Linked DNA regions of Homo sapiens: region 1 is linked to region 2. Evidence: promoter capture Hi-C in human tissues and cell types (Jung and others, 2019). All regions are on one chromosome and are shown on one strand. Each heading gives the region's core, a stretch centred on a gene start or on the middle of the fragment in contact. The rest is flanking DNA. Distances are from core to core; before and after follow the strand shown. Region 1 has its middle 17 kb from the start of KRTAP19-6. Region 2 holds the start of KRTAP6-2 (keratin associated protein 6-2).

The links. The method cuts DNA at HindIII sites, captures the fragments that hold promoters and counts their contacts. A contact is called where the count stands out against the background at its distance.
Region 1: a contact is called between a fragment that was not itself captured here and the fragment with the promoter of KRTAP6-2 in region 2, in 2 of the 25 tissues and cell types used here (dorsolateral prefrontal cortex and pancreas).

The regions. Positions count from the first base shown.
Region 1 is chr21:30,522,763-30,527,799 of GRCh38, forward strand. No RefSeq gene overlaps it. Among named protein-coding and RNA genes, the nearest start is that of KRTAP19-6, 17 kb to the right of the region's middle. The HindIII fragment of the contact is 3,717 bases long and covers 1,048-4,764 here.
Region 2 is chr21:30,596,525-30,601,026 of GRCh38, forward strand. KRTAP6-2 (keratin associated protein 6-2) reads right to left here and starts at 2,378. Exons shown (of 1, transcript NM_181604.2): 1 at 2,066-2,378. The coding sequence starts at 2,350. The coding sequence ends at 2,162. The HindIII fragment of the contact is 6,207 bases long and covers 1-4,502 here.

The DNA of each region.
Region 1 (5,037 bases), core at 1,656-4,155, 73 kb before region 2:
TCTTTTAATGTCTATAGGATTAGTGGTAATGACACCTGTTTCATTTCTAATATTAGTCATTTTTTTCTTAATGTTTTTTCTTGTCTGGCCTGACCAGAGGCCTAGCAATTATTGATCTTTTCCAAGAAACAGCTTTTGGATTTGTTGATTTTTTCCTATTGTTATTCTGTTTACAAGTTTAGTGATATCTGCTTTAGGGTTAAATTGTTCTTTTTCTAGTTTACTAAGGTAGACTGAAGTTATTGATTGTAAGGTTTATTTTTTTTCTTTTTTGATAAATACATATAATGCTTTACATTTCTAAGTACTACTTTTGCTACATCCACATTTTAACAAGTTCCACTGTCTTTTTTCATTTGTTTCAATGTATCTTTTTTCACGCGCACTTGATACTTTAAAAAATTTGTGTGCTATTTATAAATGTGCTGCTTTACTTTTCAAACATGTGGGAATGTATCTTTCCATTATTGATTTCTAGTTTATTTATTCTGTAATCTAAGAACATACTTTGTGTGTTTTCTATTCTTTTAAAATTGTTAAGATATATTTTATGGCCCACAATGTTACCTATCTTGATGAATGTTCTGAGTAAGCTTGAGAAAAAATGTTTTCTGCTTTTGTTGGATGGAATGCTTTAAAAATGTGAATTATAGCAAATTGATGATGTGTACTCTTCACACCATCTGTATTAGTCTGTTCTCATGCCACTAATAAGGACATACCTGAGACCGGGTAATTTATAAAGGAAAGAAGTTCAATAGACTCACTGTTCCCCAGGGCTGGGGAGGCCCTAGGAAACATACAACCATGGCAGAAGGGGAAGCAAACATGTCCTTCTTCACATGGTGGCAGTAAGGAGAAGTGCAGAGTAAAGGCAGGGAAAAGACCCTTATAAAACCGTCAGATGTGATGAGAACTCACTCACTATCATGTGAATATCATGCAGGTAGCCACCCCCAGGATTCAATTACCTTCCACTGGGTCCCTCCTACAACACATGAGGATTATGGGAACTACAGGTCAAGATGAGATTTGGGTGGGGACACAGCCAAACAATATCACCATCTGTATCTTTACTGACTTCCTGCTATCTCAAGCTATCAATTATTGACAGAAGGGTACTGAAGTCTCCAATTACAATATTGAATTTGCCGATTTCTCCTTTCACTTTAATCAATTTTTGCCTTATATGTTTTTACACTCTTACGTTAAGTATATACAGTTTAAAATTGTTATACTTTTTTAAAGAATTGATCCTTTAACCTTTATTTAATGCTTTTTTTTCTCTTGATAACTTTCCTTGTCCTGAAGTTTCTTTACTTGAAATTAATATAGGAACCTCAGCTTTTTTTTTTTGATTAATGTTTTCATGGAATTTTTTTTAATTCTTTTACCGCAACCTGAATCTTGGTAGTCAGAGTGTGTTTTTCTTTTATAGTCACCATGTAGTTGGGTCCTGAGTGTATAAAGTTTTTTTTTTTTTTTAACCCATGCTGGCAAGCTTAGTTTTATAATTGCTTTATTTATATCATTTACATTTAAGGTGATTATTAATATAGTTAGATTGATATCTGTTATGTTTGTGACTATTTTCCACTCATAGCGTTAGGTCTTTATTTCTATTTTCCTATGTTTTCTTCCTTTTCTGGTATTAAATGTATAATTTATATGATTGAATTTTATCTGCCCTCTTGAAAGGTATATCAATTATACTTATTTCTATTTTTATTTTTAGTGTTTCCCCTGGAGTTTACAATATATGTTCTTAACTAATATAAGTTCACCTTCAAATAATAGCATAGCAATTCACATTTACTACATGTACCTACTAATAGAATATCCCAAATTTCTTTCACCTCTCTTTATAACGTTTCACTTATCTATATTCTCTTTTAACTAATACCTTGTGACTATTTTTGCCTTAACTGAACAGTTATGTTAAAGCAATTAAGGATAGAAAAATTAAACAATTTACCTTCTTTCATTTCTTCTCCGTTCATTTCTTCTGTTGCTCCTCGTTTGTTTACATAGATCCAAGGTTTTTAACCATCTTCCTATGACTGAAAATCTTTTTCTTAACATTTCTTGCAGGGAAGGCTACTGATACTTCATTTCTTTGTTTATTGTTGCTGTTGTTGTTGTTTGTCTGAGAAAGCATTTATTCCCTTTCCACATTTATTCCCTAGCCATCCAGAACAGCCTAGGATTTGTTACTGATTCCCCTAGACACAAGAGTTCCTTCCATGCTTTATTCCCATGATTAATGTGACCCTGGGGTATAAAACTCAGAGTGGGCTGCTTTGGGGGGATCCCTCAGCTGTAGTACAAGTGGGGTGCATACAGTGAAGACTCTATCTTCTCCAGGCAGCTTTTCTGAGACTTGGGGGATGAACTTACAATGAACCCTAGGCTTCCATTGTCCCTTGCTCCCTATCTGTAAGTAACAGGTCTGTTTCATGTAACCTATTGCATATATAATATTCTGTCTCACCAGGAAAGGATGCAGAAGTTACCTTTCACTTGCACAACCAAGCAAACAAATGACTATGGGAGAAATGCAAAATCCACATGGAAAACATCAAAACATCACCCTCTTCTTATATAATGAAGATTTTTAGGAACTCAATGTTGTACCTAATTCAGAATAAATGTCATCAGTCGTGACAAAAAAAAAAAGGCTCTCTGAAAAAAGTCTAATTTGTAGCATTTGCTGATCTCTGTAGTATAAATACTCCCATCACGTTCTCTTTCAACTTAGCAATGTGACGCCTCTAAACACAGAGCTGGAAAGAGATGCTCAAAATTGCCTTTTGTGAGCTGGTATGAAGTGGCCCCAGCAAACCAATGAAAAAAAAATGTACATGAAGGGAAATGCCAAACTTACTGGAATTTGAAATGTCTAAATTATTTAGTTTCCATGAATATCATAATAATGGAAGTCTGCTCTTAGCAACAAACCACATTAACTAAACAATGTGTCCTCTTAAAACTTTGATCACCTTCAAAGATAAGGAATAATAGGTATAAAGTACATATTTTCATAGGGAAAATTTTTTAAATGAGAGTATTTTTTTAAATGTAAAACTCAAATGCATTGGAATGAATTAAAAAATGATGTCAGGCTTTATAGGCTTATGAAGAAAATTTACTAGAAAGTGTCTCCGGAAATATCACATAAGAATGAAGTCAGTGGCATTTTATTATTGTAGCAGAGAAGACAATACCTAGCTTGAGTGATGAAATTCTAAGTCAGAAAAGTAGGTCCACACTGAAACAAATGTGCCTTTTGCATGGTGAGATCTTCATTAAGAAAAGCCCTCAGAAAAATATCACTGGTGATACTGAAGGGCATAAAACCTTCTATCAGGGAAAGAATCCTAAAATTTTGAGTTCTAATGTGATGATCAATTTTTTTTCTTTTCAGTAGAATCCAGAGGACCAATAACTTCTATGGAAAGAGGAGCATGGTTTTAGATTCCCATAAGCAAATTTTATTAGGGAATATGTGCGGAAATATCATCAAAGGGATAAAGAAGAAAAGCTTCATGCTAATAACACAGTGGGAATGTGGATACCTCGACTAGACTGGTGCTAAGATTCCAGCTAAGGGAAACAAATCCCTGCAGATTTGGAGAATTGGTCTCCATTAGGATGTCTTCAGGGGCTCATGACTGGCTCTGAAATATGTCACTGATAACAGTGAAGAAAACAAAAGAACGAAGATGAAAATAATATAAAAGCTCTGAATTTATTTGCAATAGACTATATTTTCAAAAGGAGTGAAGATTACCAATATCCTTCATAGAAAGAGGGATAAGAATGGTCACAGCCATAACCACCATCAAGCCCATAGCTAGATCCATAGCCATAGTCCAGACTACCAAAACCACCAAGGCCATAGCCATGTCCACTGTAGTCCTTGCTGTACTAGTAGCTCATTATGTTGGGGGTTGAAGATTGGTTTGATGTTGAAGTTGAATTTCCTAAGAATAAATATCACCACCCACGCCTAGACTTTTATATTCTCTCGGGGGTGGGGGGGCACTACATAGATATTTCTCATTTTTGTTTCTTTCACTAATGTGCAAAACAGCCCAAGTATATTCTTGTTTTGTGATTTGAGAAGTTTTTTGTTTTTTTTTTTTTTTTTTTTGAGATAGAGTCTCGCTCTGTCACGCAGGCTGGAGTGCAGCAGCGCAATCTCGGCTCACTGCAATCTCCGCCTCCCGGGTTCACACCATTCTCCTGCCTCAGCCTCCCGAGTAGCTGGGACTACAGGTACCCGCCACCACGCCCAGCTAATTTTTTGTATTTTTAGTAGAGACAGGGTTTCACCGTATTAGCCGGGATGGTCTCGATCTCCTGACCTCATGATCCGCTGGCCTCGGCCTCCCAAAGTGATTACAGGCGTGAGCCATCGCGCCCGGCCAATTTGAGAAGTTTTAATGCTACTCATGTATAATTATATTTACTTATTTGCTTTCTCTGAACTTCTTAGTGTCAGCTCTTACAATAAAAGGTAATGACTGCCAATTCTTCAAAGCTTATGACTGTGCTTAACATAGCCTAACTAGATTACTTGATGCAATCTGACCTCTTGCATCATATCTAATTTTGTTAGTCCTTGTCTCTCATTCTCTCCTTTTATCAAGAACCACCGCTCTCCTCCTAATCCAGAAATTACAGTTTCCTACTTATTAATTGGCATGAGTTTGAAGGTGTTAGAGCACACTAGTTGAGAGCCCAGTATATGCAGCAATGCCTGTTGTTATTTCAAAGTCCTGTTTCTACCCACTTGAGTGAGATTCTCAATCTTTTAAAATATCCATTTTCATACATGTGCAAAGACAATAATAATTTACATCTCTGTTTTCGACATTTGCTGCAAAGCCCCCTAAGCATAGAGCAACAAACCCTTCATAACTTACCTCTCTGTCAGCTCACAAATGTAATTATATGAAAGAAAAATATATTACACTGTGAAAGCTTATCTCCTTATATAGCTTTGAGGGTCCTTAAATGGGAGCAAATTGAAAG
Region 2 (4,502 bases), core at 1,128-3,627:
TTTTTCTTTACAATTGTTTGTATGCAAAAGATTTAGCATATCTACGCAAAAGTTCTGATGGAACAAATCTTTATCCTAAGTAGTAGATCATTCTTTTTAAGGGTAAAACCATATGAAATAAGTAGCTATGAAAATCAAAGGATCAGTCTAGGCACTCACAATGAGCCTACTTTTCAAAAATAGTACTGTTGCAAAAGGAAGAAAACCTCTTCAACACATTTTTTTCAAATTCTAAAATGTATAATATTTGAGAGCCCTGAAATGCATAGAGCTACAGCAACTATATAAGCAATTATTAAAATCTAAAAAGAGGCAATAGGTATTTGTCATGATAAAGTTAATTTAAAGAAAAAAATGCTGAAGGGACAAAAGTTAATAAGAGATGAGATGGGGAAAAGGGATTGAGAAATTTTCCTAGAATTTGGAGAAAAGGCATAAAAAGATTGTGCCAAAAAGTAAGAGATGTGCATGAAAGATTATAAACGTCTAATGTGTGAGCTGAAATTTCGTAAATAGAGTGGTCAGTATAAATTTAAAAAGCAGAGAAAAGTGGAATGGAAGATTTTCGTTGGGTAAAGAGGTAAAAAACAAAATTGTTCTTCAGATAATTTTAATTTAAGTCAATAACATTAAATAACAGTAATAACTAAGCCTATCCCGGGAGATAACTTTGCATTTAGTGGTTAAACAATCCCTGCAATTATCTAGAGTCAAAGAAAATAAATACTTTAGATGAATCTACAAAGAGACAACAAACAGGTGGGTATGAAATATCTCTTTTGCCACACCTGCCAATGAGAAAGTTACTCCATTCTCTTTACTTCTATCTATTCAGCTCTAAAATGGGGATAAGTTTTTTTCTCTTTTTTTTTTTTTTTTTTTTTTTTTTTTTTTTAGATAGAGTCTCACTCTGTCACCCAGGCTGGAGTGCAGTGGCGCGATCTCAGCTCACTGAAACCTCCCCCTACCAGGTTCACGCCATTCTCCTGTAGCTAGGACTACAGGGGCCCGCCACCAAGCCCGGCTAATTTTTTTTTATATTTTTAGTAGAGATGGGGTTTCACTGTGTTAGCCAGGATGGTCTTGATCTCCTGACCTTGTGATCTGCCCGCCTCGGCCTCCCAAAGTGCTGGGATTACAGGCATGAGCCACCATGACCGGCCAATTTTTTTTTTCTTTTTCTTGAAAAAGATGTCACCCAGGCTGGAGTGCAGTGGCACAATCTCGGCTCACTGCAACCTCTGCCTCCCGGGTTTAAGCGATTCTCCCACCTCACCCTCCCAAGTAGCTGGGATTACAGGTGTGCACCACCATGGCCCCTGGCTGGTTTTTTTGTATTTTTAATAGAGACGGGGTTTCACCATATTGGCCAGGCTGGTCTTGAACTCCTGACCTCAAATGATCCACCTGTCTCAGCTTCCCAAAGTGGTGGGATTACAGGAAAATGGGGAAAATTTTAACACATCATGCATTCATTCTGAGGCTCATTTGAGATGATGTACGTTAAAAACTTGGCACAGTGATTGCTCTATGCTAAACGGCTAATAAATGCTACTTAATTATGGTTATTTAGATTATAAATTATTTATGTAGAGTTGTGATATGAACTACATAGAACAAGTTTGACAGTAAATGATTTTCATACGCAAATAATCAACCCATAAATGATGCACGGTTTTCTGCTCTGTTCATGCTCGGTTTTCTATTCTATTGAAGCAGTGATAACATGGGTTACGTTGAGACATTGTTAGGTTAACATAAATTGGGAAGAAAGCTAAAAAGATAAATACTGGATACTAATGAAAAGAAAATCAGGATGGTAATTCCAGATTGAAAAAGTGTATTAGGAAAACAGAAAATAAGTTCCTGCATGAAAATCAAAAAGCAAGATCTATAACAGCATCATCTTGATGAGAGACCACAGGAGTTCATAGGATGAATTTTACATTATTTTAATTTTCATGCATTAAATGCAGAAAAGGAAGTTGAAAATACTAGATCCAGAGGGTACTGGGGGTGGGAGGGTCAGTCTTCAGATAAATCACATCAGAAACTTTTAATATAAGATAATCTTCATCCAGCCCCGAGCTCAGAGCATACGGGGTTCAGAATTGGTGAATCCCGATGTCACAGGATAGAGGATGAGTCTCCCACGGTGTCCTCAATAGTAGTAGCCAGAGCCGCATCCATAGCCACAGCCACAGAAGAAGCGGGAGCCGTAGCCATGACCATAGCCACAGCAGGAGCTATAGCCACAGCGCAGGCTTCCATAGCCATAGCCTAGGCCTTCGTATCCACAGCACCCATAGCCATGGTCGCCGTAGTAGTTTCCGTAGTAGCTGCCGCACATCGTGATGGTTGTGGAGGTTGTCCTTGGGTAGGAAGGAGTGTAGGTGACTTCAGTATGGATACTTCCTGTAGAAGTCCTTTTATATGCCTCAGGATGGGAATGATCCAGCAGAGGTAGCATACCACTGGCTAATTTTTTGACTAATATAATTAGTTTGTTTTTTCTCAATTGTAAGATAATGCTGCAGAGGTATTAAGGAGGCTTGTTTTGTTTGGCCTTGCAATTTGGGCTCCCCTTATCTGATTGAGGGCTCTGATGAAAGGAGACCTCACACACTCACACTCATATAATCCTGCCTCAAACTAGACTTTCTATAGCCATCCTTTACATCAAGAAAGACTTTTGTTAGTTACACTCTTATTTGCTCTAGGCCCCAATTAATTGTACTCTTTTGCACAACATTCAGCAAACAATAACTTTGCCCTTTTAGTATTTCTGCTCTCTTTATCCAAATAATACTTTTTTCAGGGATTTAGTGTCTTTTCTATACTAAAGCCATGATGTTGATAATAATTCAACTAATTAAAAATTCTAGAAAACCAGATCTGAGAAAAATTTGTTGTATTTTTCTACTTATACCAGTGAGTCTAATTTTCCTTTATGTTCAACCTCTACGGAAGAACAAGAAAATGTAAGTTATTTTCTTGATTTATAAAAGAATTAATAAGTGACCAAGTCAATGAAATGGAACAATAGTTTTATATTCTCTTTTAACTTCTTATCTTAAAATAATCTCAGGCATAGAGATAGTTGTCAAAATAGTATAGAAAATTTCCATATATCCATCATTCAACATCCCTAATATTAATATCTTTCATAACCATAATCCACTTATCACACCAAAGAAATTAACTGTGTACAGTATTCTTAACTAAACTGCAGACTTTATTTTACCATTTTTCTGTTATTATTAACTTATTTTATTTTAAGTTCTAGGACCATGGTTCATTGTAGCACTATTCACATATTTATTTTAATGTTCTTTTTTTCTGTTCTTGGATCCAATTCACATTGCATTTGGTTTTTATACTTCTTAGTCACCTCCAATTGCTCATGGTTCATTCGTCTTTTCTTGGCTTTTATGACCTTACAATTTTAGAGAGCCAGATATTTTGTGGAATATTCCCCAATTGAATCTGTCTAAGGTTTCCTCATATGTAGATTGAGGTTATACATTTGGGAAGAGATGTAACTCTTGTCTTGTGCCATCTCAGGGAGTCATGATGCCAATAAATCTTTGAGTAATTCTGGAATTGTTTTAAAATTCAGATTTTTAATAGAAGTCCTTTTCTTACTATATACCCAGAATCAACGAAGTCAAAAATCAAAGTCTTTGCCACGGTTTAGAATCATATATAAAATGATAGCTACATGTGAAGTATAAACCAAAGAGAATGATATTGCTCCACAAAAAGTGATGAAACACCTTATCACTCAACATTTTACAAGTGAATGCTGCCACCATGACTTCTCTTACACGCTTATCATCCTTCCTTATCACTTTGGAGCTACACTCTTATTCCCAAGTCTGCATATATGTATTTAGGCTGAAGGATATTATTGGGTGAAAGTAGGATTTTTAAAAAATGGAAGCCATCACGTCCATAACCCCAGGCTTTGGGAGGCCGAGGCGGGCGGATCTTGAGGTCAGGAGATCAAGACCATCCTGGCCAACATGGCGAAACCCCATCTCTACTAAAAATACAAAAATTAGCTGGGCGTGGTGGCACGCACCAGCTATTCATAAGGCTGAGGCAGAGAATCCAGGAGAATCACTTGAAACCAGGAGGTGGAGGTTGCAGTGAGATTGTGCCACTGCACTCCAGCCAGGCAACAGAGCTAGTCTCTGTCTCACAACAACAACAACAACAACAACAACAAGTGGAAGCCATGTGGGTTACTCTTGGTTGCTGGTAATGTAGTTTAAATTTGACATCTGAAATAAACGAGTCATCAAAATAGGAGATGGATCTCTTATTAAAGGTACATTATTTCATTATATTCAACATTCCTGAGAAACAGCAAAGTTGTCTTGGATGTATTGGTTACAAGGAATATTTTAGATGGTTTCAATGCTAATTAGTGTGGAATGTGAATCTAACAGTGCCTGTGATTTGTCCCACATACCATTCATGTGGCATTTAAGGCCCTT